Linked DNA regions of Homo sapiens: all the other regions are linked to region 2. Evidence: promoter capture Hi-C in human tissues and cell types (Jung and others, 2019). All regions are on one chromosome and are shown on one strand. The core of a region is centred on a gene start or on the middle of the fragment in contact, and the rest is flanking DNA. Distances in the headings are between cores, read along the strand shown.

Evidence for each region. Contacts are between HindIII fragments. The study calls those that stand out against the background at their distance.
Region 1: a contact is called between a fragment that was not itself captured here and the fragment with the promoter of EVX2 in region 2, in 1 of the 25 tissues and cell types used here (spleen).
Region 3: a contact is called between a fragment that was not itself captured here and the fragment with the promoter of EVX2 in region 2, in 1 of the 25 tissues and cell types used here (spleen).

Annotation. Positions count from the first base shown.
Region 1 is chr2:175,607,903-175,611,967 of GRCh38, forward strand. LOC107985962 (a long non-coding RNA gene) reads right to left here. Exons shown (of 4, transcript XR_007087312.1): 4 at 1-4,065. Among named protein-coding and RNA genes, the nearest start is that of LNPK, 390 kb to the right of the region's middle. The HindIII fragment of the contact is 4,145 bases long and covers 1-4,002 here.
Region 2 is chr2:176,081,200-176,085,223 of GRCh38, forward strand. EVX2 (even-skipped homeobox 2) reads right to left here and starts at 2,763. Exons shown (of 3, transcript NM_001080458.2): 1 at 2,151-2,763; 2 at 979-1,250. The coding sequence starts at 2,577. RefSeq lists an enhancer at 1,522-2,137. The HindIII fragment of the contact is 9,267 bases long and covers 2,188-4,024 here.
Region 3 is chr2:175,628,914-175,632,629 of GRCh38, forward strand. It overlaps LOC107985962 (a long non-coding RNA gene), which reads right to left. Exons shown (of 4, transcript XR_007087312.1): 4 at 1-3,716. Among named protein-coding and RNA genes, the nearest start is that of LNPK, 370 kb to the right of the region's middle. The HindIII fragment of the contact is 4,114 bases long and covers 1-3,588 here.

The DNA.
Region 1 (4,065 bases), core at 680-3,179, 470 kb before region 2:
ACCATGCAAAAATGTTCACTCTTCCTGCAAGCAGAAGTGGCTTGGGCAGCACAGCTTCTAATGGTAGCATGCAATTTCTTCTAGTAGAAAATATAATTCAGCCAAAAGGCAAGGTAGAGGCTAGATTGAGGGTTTCACCATAGGACTGAGCACAATGCTGTGGAGGGAAGCCACCCACACCCCTCCCAGGCATGGGAACTGATCCGACCCTATTAGGATAAGAAGAGTTGGGCTGGGGGAGGTTAGTGGGGATGGAGATGGGAGGTGAGTATCTTTAGCTGAATTCTACCTTTGTGGTGCTATAAAAGTTTTGACTGTAAATATAAACATTAAGAAATAGAAAATAATTTGCCTTTATTAGAATATGTGTATAATTTAAAACATTTTTTAAGTTTATTTTTGTAGAGACAAGGTCTCAAACTCCTGTAATTTTGTAGAGACAGGTCTCAAGTAATTTTCCTGTCTCAGGCTCCCAAAATGCTGGGATTACAGGTGTGAGCCTCTGCACTTGGTGAGGTATGTAGTTTTTTGTTTGTTTTTTGTTTGTTTGTTTGTTTGAGATGGAGTCTCACTCTGTCACCCAGGCTGGAGTGCAGTGGCGTGATCTCGGCTCACTGCAAGGTCCGCCTCCTGGGTTCACACCATTCTCCTGCCTCAGCCTCCCGAGTAGCTGGGACTACAGGCACCCGCCACCACACCCGGCTAATTTTTTTGTATTTTTAGTAGTGACGGGTTTCACCGTGTTAGCCAGGATGGTCCCGATCTCCTGACCTCGTGATCCACCCGTCTCAGCCTCCCAAAGTGCTGGGATTACACGCATGAGTCACTGTGCCCCGCCCAGGTATGTAGTTTTTAAATCATTCATGTGAGCTGCAGAAAATCATGGCAGTGACAGAGGTCACTGCAGTTGTTCAGCCTAGGTTATCAATTGAGAAAGGCCCAAAAAAATTGCCTGTAAGAGTGAGTAGACATCAGTCCAAGAAGAGATAGGGACATAGAAACCTGGGGGAAGAAAAGGGCAGGGACAGATGGGGAGCATGCTGGCAAGAGGTCAGACATGTGGGGGCCATCAGCCAGCTGTGGGCAACCCTTTCCATAGCATGGCCATGTTTAATTGGGTAGGTCACTGCAGCAAGCCACCCCAAAACAGAGTAGCTTGGAGGATCTCTTTCACCTCAGAATTCCAGGAGGAACCTCTCCTCTGTTGGCTCATCAGCCCCAGAGCCCAGAAATTTCTATGAACTGATCCCAATAAAGCCAAGTAGGCCAACACGTGCCCCCGGCCCCCACCTCGGTCTCAACATACAATACCTTCAGGCAGGCAGAAGTTTCAGGAAGCTGCTTGCCTTTGTCTTATTTGTCTTAGTCTTCCCACAGCTACTAAATAGTTTAGAGCAATACCGTTTGTTCCCAAGGAAAGAAAGAATCTAAAATAAAGGTTTAAAATTCACTGTCAAGGCCGAGTAACCAGTGTTAAACAGAAGACCCCAGGAGTTCTCAGACCCACAAGCAGAAGAGACGCTGGGTTTGGGTTCCTTCCCTGCCTTCGGCCCAGCTTCCTTTGTTCCTACTGTCAACCTCATGATGTGCTTGTGTGACATCTTCTGGTTTTCTGCCCCCTTCATTACTGCCCTTGAGATTCCCTCAAATCTGATTTTCCTTTATAGAAAAATATCAGGGGATGGTGGGGATGATTTGTTCTGGGCCCTGCAACTGCCCTGGAGATGTCTCTGGACAGAGGCTCAGGGGTCAGGCCCGGAGCTGTTTCCTCTGTGTTTTTCCCCCATGGCGTTCAGGACATTTGGCTTCTTTGCAAGGAGCATTCAGTAGGACGGAGACAGTGTGGGTTCCACGTGGGCTCTAAGGAAAATGCCACATAACTAATAGAAAAGCTTAGCGTGAAAACTGACCGTAGCACATGAAAAGTTGTATCCTGGGGAAATTGTGTTTGTTCTTTTAAGTATGGCAACTATTCAGCCTAGGGCAGCAAATGAGGTGCTTGCTCCTTCATGCAATGGAGAGGTTTGCTTGGTTCACACTGTGAGGCAAATGTATGTAGAATATTGCCAATTCAAGGTAAATTGCCACCTCATTAGGGTTATTTGGTATTTTTTTTTCAAACCTGAATTTCTCACAAACCCAGAGGAGGAAATACATTCACTTGCCTGGAGTGAGGAGGGATATCAGTGCCACCTCTCCTCTACTTGCCGAGGTTTCTGGGCTCAAGCACCACACCCTGCTTTGACTGGATTTCCCATCGTGGTCTATGGGAGGCTTAATCCTGTGAACATCTCCTAACACCTGTGCAGAGGGCACTCTCATTTATAGGTTGGCAGGGTTGAGAAAACCCTACATCTAGAAGAGCCACACGCAGCATACATCTTGGTTTCAGCCTATTTCTCTCATGACTCCTCACCTGGAGTCTTGAGAGAGTGAGAACTGGGAGGAAGGTGGATAGTTAGAAAACATCTAGAGCATGGAGTTCTGCTTGATAGATCAGAGTAATCCAGACAATGTGGACGTTCTGACAGGGAGTGGAAAATGGGCACTGAAGGCTTTCTGTGAGGATGTATCCATTGCTCATTTCCAGCCCTGCAGAGCCACAGCCTGGCAATTTCTGGGGCCAGCCTCAGATCCTGCTCTCAGCAGGATGCAGACACTGTATATTGACCCACATGTCAGCCATGTTTTGGAACAACCTAGGGTGTCTCAACTGTTTTGAGGTGGTATTGTCTGGAAAAAGTCAGATATAGGCCATTTAATAGGGCAAGTTACTTTCATGTTCAAGATACGTTGTTTTAGTGCTTTGTGTGCACTCCAGCTATAACAATAGGGTGCCATAAGGTCAAAGAAGTAAGACATAGATTTCTAAGGTATGGCTCCACTCCTGCAGCTTCAAGCCTATGGGAGTAACCGTTTCTCTTCTTGCAATAACTGGATTTCTCACTGGAATGAAGAGTTGTGATTCACAACTTCTGTAGCTGTGGTCTCTTCCTTTAGGGCTAAGGTCACACCAAATGACAGGAAGATGCCGCTTCCCCTGTTGTAGTCACTGAATCTGCTGCTTCTCTCTCTCCTCTCTGGAGGAACAGATGGCAACCCCTTCTCCCTGTTTTTGCCTTCATGTGTGATAGAGATAGTCAGTCCCCCCTGTATCTGTCTAAATAGGCCAGAGCACTGGCTGTCACACTTAGCCCAATTTAGAATCTCTCTTGGTTTAAGAAGGAAGGACTTGTTAAACCACTGATTGCTGGGTGCTGCTCATGTTTCTAATTCAGTAAGTTCAGGTTGAGGCTGAGCATTTGCATTCTAACCAATTCCCTAGTGATGCTGATGCTAATGGTTTCGGAATTGCACTTTGAGAATCACTGAGTTCGGTTATGCTGCAGTAACAAATGTCCCCAAATCTCAGTGGCTTCCGATCACAGAGCTCTATTTTCCACTGGTGTCTCATATCTGTGATAGGTTAGTGGCAGCTGTGCTTCACGTCATCATATCCAGGACCCGAGTGGCCGAACAGCCTCTGACATGTTGCCAATCTCAGGGCATGGGAGAAAGAGGACATGGTAAACCATCACTCAGCTCTTAAAGCTTTGCCTTATATCTCATTGTCTAAAGCAAATCACAGGGCCGAATATGACGTTAGTGGCAAATGAGGGGCCAAACATTTTTGTGAGAATTGTACAGTCTACGGCATCCTCCCTCATATCATTTGTCCCATTCTACCATTGTAAATGAGCTCAGGTTTTGACTGAACAAATGGCTTCCCAGAACAAAGATTGTTTTTTTTCAGACTCTCCTGCAGCTAGGTATGGCTGTGTGAGTTCTGGCCAATGGGTTGTAAATAGAAGGTTGTATAGTTGTTCCAGAAACCTTCCTGAGAGGACAGCACACATGTGCCCTTTTTCTCTTCCCCTCTTCCTCTCTTTAATTGCTTTTTTCATCCTATTCCTTAGCATGCAGATGCTAGCATTTTGAAGCATGAGGTGGTCAAAACTACATGTCTCAGCCTCACAGAAAAGAAACAAGGTGTGTGGAACACCATATCACCATATCAGCCCCAGA
Region 2 (4,024 bases), core at 1,513-4,012:
TTTGTACGGGGATTCTGGGCAGCCTTTGAAGAGAGGCTGCCGCTCAGCTTTTCTGAGAGGTCGCCGCGCGAAGTCTTGAGCCCTCCGAACTGCAAGGACCTGCCCCTAGGGGCACGGGTCCGATTTTGATATTGAAGGGATGATTTTGTTGGAATCGTTTGCCTTAAATGAGTGGGTAGAGCAATGTCTCCATAAACGGGGAAGGGGACGTTTCCACCCCTCCCAACACTATCTAATAAAGACATCATTCGTCACAACTCTAAATTAAAGAAAGCCCGATCAAACCAGAGGGAGACTTCCACACTCCTCCCCTACCCCGTGGAGATTTTTTCTTTTTTCTGCAGTGTCGAACGCTCCATGAAGGGCTCACCAAATCGCCTAACCTCCCGGCTATCTCTCCCAGACGTATAATAAAATTAATAACCTAAAGTTATATATAAATAAGGACAATTTCGTTGCATTTTTCCCCGCAGGAGGTTGCCCTTTTTTCGTTGCCCAAGAGGAAAATGTTCAGGAAACTACTGTCTCAAACCAATCGATTTTAAAGATACAGTATCCTTTTCTCCGTGTAACGATTTATGCGGAAAATAAATCTCCAAGCTCAAGAGCAAATGAAAAGTTTCACCTCTGGTTCCTGCTTGAGGAACAAAGACCAACTGGGCTTGCCGCCTAGGGGAAAGTGGGGCCGTGGGTATGGGCGAGGGGGCATCTGGCCAGGCGTTGGGCACAATGGAGCAGGGGCGAGTGCTTTCAGCATTGGAGTCACCATTCGGGGGCCTTCTTAGATCCGTCAGGCCGGACAACCGTTCGGATTCGGTGGCCGGGAAATAAATAAGCCAATTCCTTTGGTGACTACCCCCCGCGGATTTCCAGACCCTTAGCTAAATCTAGCCACCCAGAAAGGGGAAAGGGGAAAAAGAAACAATCAACCCAGATGCCCCCGGGGAGGCCAGAGCAGGCATGCACTGGAATTGATACCTTGATGGTGGTTTCGGGCAGGTTGAGTGCCGCGGCCAGCTCGCACCGGCGGGGCCGCGACACATAGTTCTCCCGGTAGAACTCCTTCTCCAGGCGCGCGATCTGCTCGCGGGTGAACGCCGTACGGTAGCGCCGCACTTGATCCGCGCCAGAGCCGGAGCCACCCAGCGCCGCGCTCCCGCCGCTGCCTCCGCTGCCTCCATGCAGGCTTCCGAGGCCTGAGCCCGACGCCGACGTCGTGGTGCCGGCAGCCGAGCCGCTCTCTGCGTACCCTGGCAAACAAACGACCAACAGCGCATGAGTGGCTGTAGGACCAACAGCCCGGCGCTGGCGCTGCGCGCGGATCGGGGAAGCCCCGTCAGGAAGGAGAGTCGCTGCCGGAATTGATGGGGTCTGTCATGCTTACAAATTGCTGCCGTTAATGGAATCAATAAAGTTTGGGGAGCCCTTCATAAGCAAATAATAGAAACGGAATTAGGAGATTTCTTTTTTAATAATTAGAAATTTTCAACCAAGGAGGAAAAGTGGCCGAGGGAAAATGCCTACCTCTGGGCGCAGTTTGGGAAGCTCTGGGTTTCCCATGGTCTGGAGACCGCAGGGCAGCTTTTTATACGGCCTCTAACCTTTATCTGAGTCTTCGGGGTTTCAAATATTTTAAGAGTTCCAACACAGCAGTAGCTCAAACCCAAGCCAATAGGGGGTGAAATATACTTTTCAACTCTTTCTCCCGCTGACCTAAACAGAGACGCCGGCGAGGCTTCCTCCGACTTACCCAGAAGAATGCCCCCTCCAGCCCTGAGGGCACAGGGGCAGGGGAGTTCAGAGTAGTTGCCCAGGGTACCTTTCCCAAAAGCAACTCGGCTGCTGACTAGGGGTCTACCGGCTCGCTCGGGCTCTTAGACACGAGCGCAGAAACATTTTCTCGGACTCAGGAGCGAGGGCGGGTGGGCCTGGTGTTCCAGGCTCCGCAGGCCTGAGCCTGGCGGGAAAGCTCAAGGAGCAGAACTGGAAGGCACGGTCCCAGACATGCGTCCCGCCCCCGCCCGTGCTAGCTCGGTGTAGCTTGCCTGTGGAGGGTCTGAGAGGGGAAAAGGCACCGGGAAAGGCTGGCGGGGGCCGCGGAGGAGCAAAGAGGATGGGACTGGAGAGCGCGGTGCGGCCGGCGCGGTTACCTTTGCCATTGTTTTCCTTAAGCTGAGCGGCGCCGAGGCCCCCGGGGGAGCGAAGCGCGGAGCAGCCCACCTCCACGTCGCTGCTCATGTCGGCCTCAGCGGCCGCCTCTGAATAATGGCCCGGCTTCTTGCGGCTCTCGGCGGCGGAGGAGATTTCGGAGGAGACGGTGCTTTCGCTGCCCGTGTGCTGCAGGTTGAACAAAGTGTCTATTTCGAATTTGCCCTTGGCGGGGAGTTCTCCCAGAGCGCTGTGCAGGGGGGCAGACGGCAGGCGCGGGCTTAGGCGAGCCGGGTGCTGCGAATTTTCCAGGGCCTCGAGCACAGCATTGCCAGCCGAGTTGGACAAATTGGAGAATCTCTTGCCCGCCGTAGGGCTGTGCAGCCCTCTCTCCATCAGAATCATCTCTTTTCTTATTCTTTCCATCATCTCAGCTTTCTTAAAAATGTCACAGTGGCCCTGCTGTCCCGTCCTAATGATAGGCTGCGCCTAGGGCTAATTCTCATTCAGCCCCAGCGAACGCCTCTAAATATTATTATCGCTTTCGGAGGGAGGCGGAAAAATTGTGGGATGCCAGAGCGAGGGAATGACTGGTCAAAATGACCCATACATCCTTCCGATCCCGAGATGTCATTCATCAAAAAGTAGCGCCCGCTCGTCATTAAGGTACGAATGACGCTGTTCGAATAATCATTTATTGTAACAGGTTTATAAGCAAATAAATACACCCTCCTGTCAGTGGGTAATGAAGGCAGCTTCAGAGCAGACAAATAGATCCAGGTAGGAGGCGAGAAGAGACAAGTGAGGAGGAAGGCTCCGGTCCTTTGCCCGCTCCGAGCCAGTTCTGCTCGCCCGGGGGTTTGGCCTCGGGGGTGAAATTGACAGTCTGATTAATAGAGCGCGCCGCGGCACATTTCCCCCTTCATTTAGGGGCATCATTACGCTCTCAGTTTGCTAGGTTGCCCCTTAGGTCCTAATCATGCAGCGCCTTCTTCATTTTTCCTTGGACACAGATACGTATTAAATAATAGATAATGGTTTGACTTTCCAGAGTAGGTCCTCGGGAAGGTTTGGTTTTTTTTTTTTTTTTTTTTTTTTTTTTTACCATTTACAAGCTGGGGGCATAAGTGGGGGGAGATAAGGGGGAGGATGCAGGAAGAGTTGCGTAAGGAGAAGACCTTGCGCCTCTCCTATCTGGATTACTTATCTTTCGGATTTCGGAACCAAATATGTATTTTATTTAACAAATAGGACGCCGGAGTTCTTTCCCTCCCTATTTCTTCACCTCAGCCTAAATGCTCTCCTCCCACCCCGGGAGAGAGAGAGAGCGGAAGAGAGGGAGAGAGGGAGAGAGGGAGAAAGGGAGAGGGAGACGGAGTGAGAGAAAGAGAGAGAGAGAGAGAGAGAGAAATAGAAATATCCTAGAGTTTTGAAAGCGCTTTCTTGCTACGTGGCCGCGGAGGTGCATTGGGCCCGCGCCTCCAAACGGAAATCATTAGGTCCTCTCTGATTTTCTAACACCGTCTGCAGAGTGAGATCTGAACTCGAAGTCCCCGGTTTTTTACTTTTATAATCCTGCTGATAGAAAGCCTTCTCGCCTACGCATTTTCCTGAGGGGAAACGAACTAGGCTGGACGATTTGATAGCAGAATTCGACAGCTAACTTTAAACACAGTGGAGATTTACAGCGCCATACGGGCGCTCCGAATCCACGCTCACGTTGCCAGATTTTCCCCTCCCTCCTCAAATAGAATTATTTGCGGCAAAGGCGCTGGATTTCGAGGTCAAAAGAGGAAAGAGGAGACAGCCTTCTTCCCCTACCTCCCCGCTGCCCTCCCTTCCCCTTTGCTTTTCTTCCTTCTCTCTTTCCTCCCCT
Region 3 (3,716 bases), core at 282-2,781, 450 kb before region 2:
CCCTCTGTTGTATGCTGCTCTCCCTGGTTTGTGTAACCTTTATCCTTTTACTTATAAAGCCCATTTAGAAAAAAAGTCCACTAACCTCTGCATATCTGACACTTTATTGGAATTTACATGTGAAATGCTAATAGCCCCAATGGTCAGTTCAGGATTCCCATTTCAATCCCATCTTCCTAAGGCATCTCTTGGTGGAGAGTGACTTTCTCACTGCTTATTACAAAATAGATACCTTTGCTTGTTTTCTTTTCTATTTCCCAAGACATCAGAAAGCCTTAAGGAATAGAAGTCCCATGGTCTTCGTTTTACTGATTCTTCTCTCCTACATTTTCTCTGACTTCTTAACTTTAAAGAGATTCCTTAAGCTTGGTGTCTTTGCCCTAACATGCGGGCCACATTACTTGAGGCCTTGCTCTAAGAGGCAGAATATATCAATAGCATGAGCTCACATCTGTAATGTCACCTCCATGTGCCTGGCACTGTGCTAAGCACTTCACATAGATTATCTCATTCAGTCCTCACGAAACCAAACCAAAACAGAACAAACAAAACGTTTGTAATTCCCTTTCTACAGGTGAGGAAGCCTGGGCTTGGCAGCTTTTCTAGAATTTCACAGTGGCAGAACAGGATTTGAATTCAGAGCTGTCTAACTCCCAAACCCATATTATTAACTGCTGCCCTTATAGTCAGTTTAAGGCAGTAGTTTTCAAAGTTTGGCTCCTGAAACAGCACCATCAGCATCACCTGGGACCTTGTTACAAATGCAGATTCTCAGGTACCACCGTAGACCTATGAAATCAGAAACTCTGAGCAGGGGGACCAGCAATTTGTGCTATAACAAGCCTTTCGGGTGATCTGATGTACGCTAATATTTTAAAAACCACTGCTCTGAAAACCTAGCAGGAGGGCTTTAGGTCAATGGTGAGAGATAATTTTTTGGCAGCATTGTTAACACTGGTGTAGGCCACCTCAAAAAGCTCCACTCAGACTTCTTTTGCTGGGGTCTTGAACATGTTTGAGCCTGATGAGTGCGGAGGGGCCAGTATCTCCCGCTACTCCCAACCTTATGGACCCTTCTCTCAAGTACACAGCACCACGCTGCTGAATCTGAGTGGCAGCCCAACTCTCTCAACGACACCAGAAAAAAATCTGACCTTAAAATTAAGCCTAACAAAAAACAGGATTCTGATTCCTTGTATAGGTGCTGGAAAAATAATCAGCGGCAACAGGGGGGAACATCATCATTGCTTTCTCCCTTCCTACTCACCCAGTGCAGTGGCATGCCATATATTAGCAGGCACTTTACATCAGACTAATTCAAATCCCCCTGTCAGACAAATCCCACCTATGAGCACTGCTGTCTACACCACATAACACCACATAGATCAAGAGCGGGAAGAGGCCAAAGTCATGAACGCCATAGCTTTCCATAAAACTTAATTAATGACAGAAGCATATTGCTGGGAATGGCAACACGATCATTATTTACGGTTCAGGAAACCCCAAATGTAGGCACTTCCCTTTTCCTTTTCCCCAGCCCCAGGTCTACCCATGAGAAGTTTACTTCATTCATTTCAGTAACTTTGTGAATCATTTGCCAAGTCAGCGAGAACATGTAGCATGGTATACATAAACATTAATATGACAGCTGAACATCCAACACATGTCCCAGGAGAAATGGACCACCCATTGGATGCTGCCCTGTTCTTTTCTGTCCCTGTATCTGAACACTTTTCACACTTCACATTTCTACGGTCGTTAACAGTTCTAACCTGGCACCCCCAAGAACACAATTTCCCCAAGGAACCTTACTGCTAAAAGCTTCAAAAAAAAAAAAAAAAAAAAAACCCTTTCCACCTTCCCAGCCACACCACCGCACACAGGCATGGGCCAGCGACCAGAGAAACAACTCAGCACTGACACGTAGTTATCACTTTGGGAGGCTGTGTAGCAGAGTGGGGGAAAGTGGACATCTGGCTTCGAATTCAGGTGAGATGTTCTTAGTGTCCTCATCCATAAAATGAATCCAATAATAACACTCAGCTTCAAGAGTTGTTGTGGGGTTTGAACCAACATGACGTGTGCAGTGCAGCACCTAGTGTTGAGTAAGGGCTAAGTAAACATTAATGGTATGCTGGCTCCTGCTTTTGTCTTCTTTACTGAGAACGCCAGGTGCCCCCACCCGGCTGGAGTCAAGCCCAGGCTAGTATTTTACCAGACACCCTATTCTATTACCCAGGCAGATTTTAGGAGACGGCCTGAAGGTGAATGTCAATTTTTACCTGTGTGAGTATGTCCATTTTTTCTCTGAAGACAAAGTCTAGGGCTTTCAGCTTATTCTCCAAGGCACTCATGACCACCCCAGCATCTCAGGGAGAGAAAGAAAACTGTACTCTTGGAAAGCACAGAAAGTAAGAACATACATTTATGTTTGAGAAAACAGTTCCATATGTTGGAAAGAGCATTACACCATGAGTCATAAAACTCAACTTTTAGTCTTGCCTCAACCATAAAAGGACTATGACAAATGCCTTATCAGAGCTCAGCTTCCATTTATTTGTTTGAAGAGGACATCATAATAACTCCTTCCCTTGCCTCTTACAGTTGTGGGGATTGTACTAGGTAATGGATGTGAAAGCACCTTTTAAAGCAGAAAACACCACACCAATACATACATGATAATGTAAGGTTCAGATGCTTCATCAGGTGAACTGTTTGCAGCTGGCCTGTGTAGTACAAAAAATTATGAGAAAATAAAGCTTAAGTTATACTTTTCTTCTTGCTCTACTTATGTAAAATAACATCATTATCTCTGAAATAATTTATTAAAAATAAGCAAGCAGAAATTCTTTGTGAAAGGAGAGAATTCTATAAATATTGTTTGATTTGACCCAATCTACTATAATCCTTAGAGGTACCTGGCTTCCCCCAAAGGTTTGCTTTAATTGCATGTCACTGCTAACTTCCTTGTAAAGAGACAGGCCTCTGCCATTCCTTCTAATTATCCAAATCACTGGCCACTGTGTGTGGCCTTACCTAAGGCTTTTAACCAGAAGTAATGTCACTAAATTAAAGCAGGTGGGAGGTGTCCCTATTGCAATGACTGTAATAAATGCTACATGACATTCCTTTAAGACCATTTGGAAATATTCTTTGCAGAGATACACCAATTCCAACATAATTCATCAGTTAAAAACATTAATAACCACAAGCCTACATGTAAACTGCCTCTCACTAGAGGAAACATATTCCATCTATAAAGAACATAACTTTGGCAACCTCACTTCAGGCCTAGGCTGTCCTGAAAAAGAACATTACATAGTCAGTACAATTATGTGGCTATTTCTGTTGCTTCCCCAAACCCAGAAGCAATGGCATTAACTGATATTGGCATTCATAATGTACTAATAACAAACAACATTCATTAACGTATTCCTACATGCAAATGTCACGTACACCTCTTTATATACATTTTATAATTTCATATGCACAATCCTGTGTGTACAGTTATTGTGCCCCATCTACAGCTGTGACAACCGAGGCCTTGAGAGGTTAAGTTACTTCTGCCTGAAGTGCCAGAGAAGCACTAAGGAGAAATAGAGCATATGTGGAACCGACCAGGAGACTGCACAGAGGAGGCTGAGACAAATTGCTCTAAATTATCATGATCTATGTGACAGTTGTATAAACATCAAGAATGTGCAACATACAGTTTT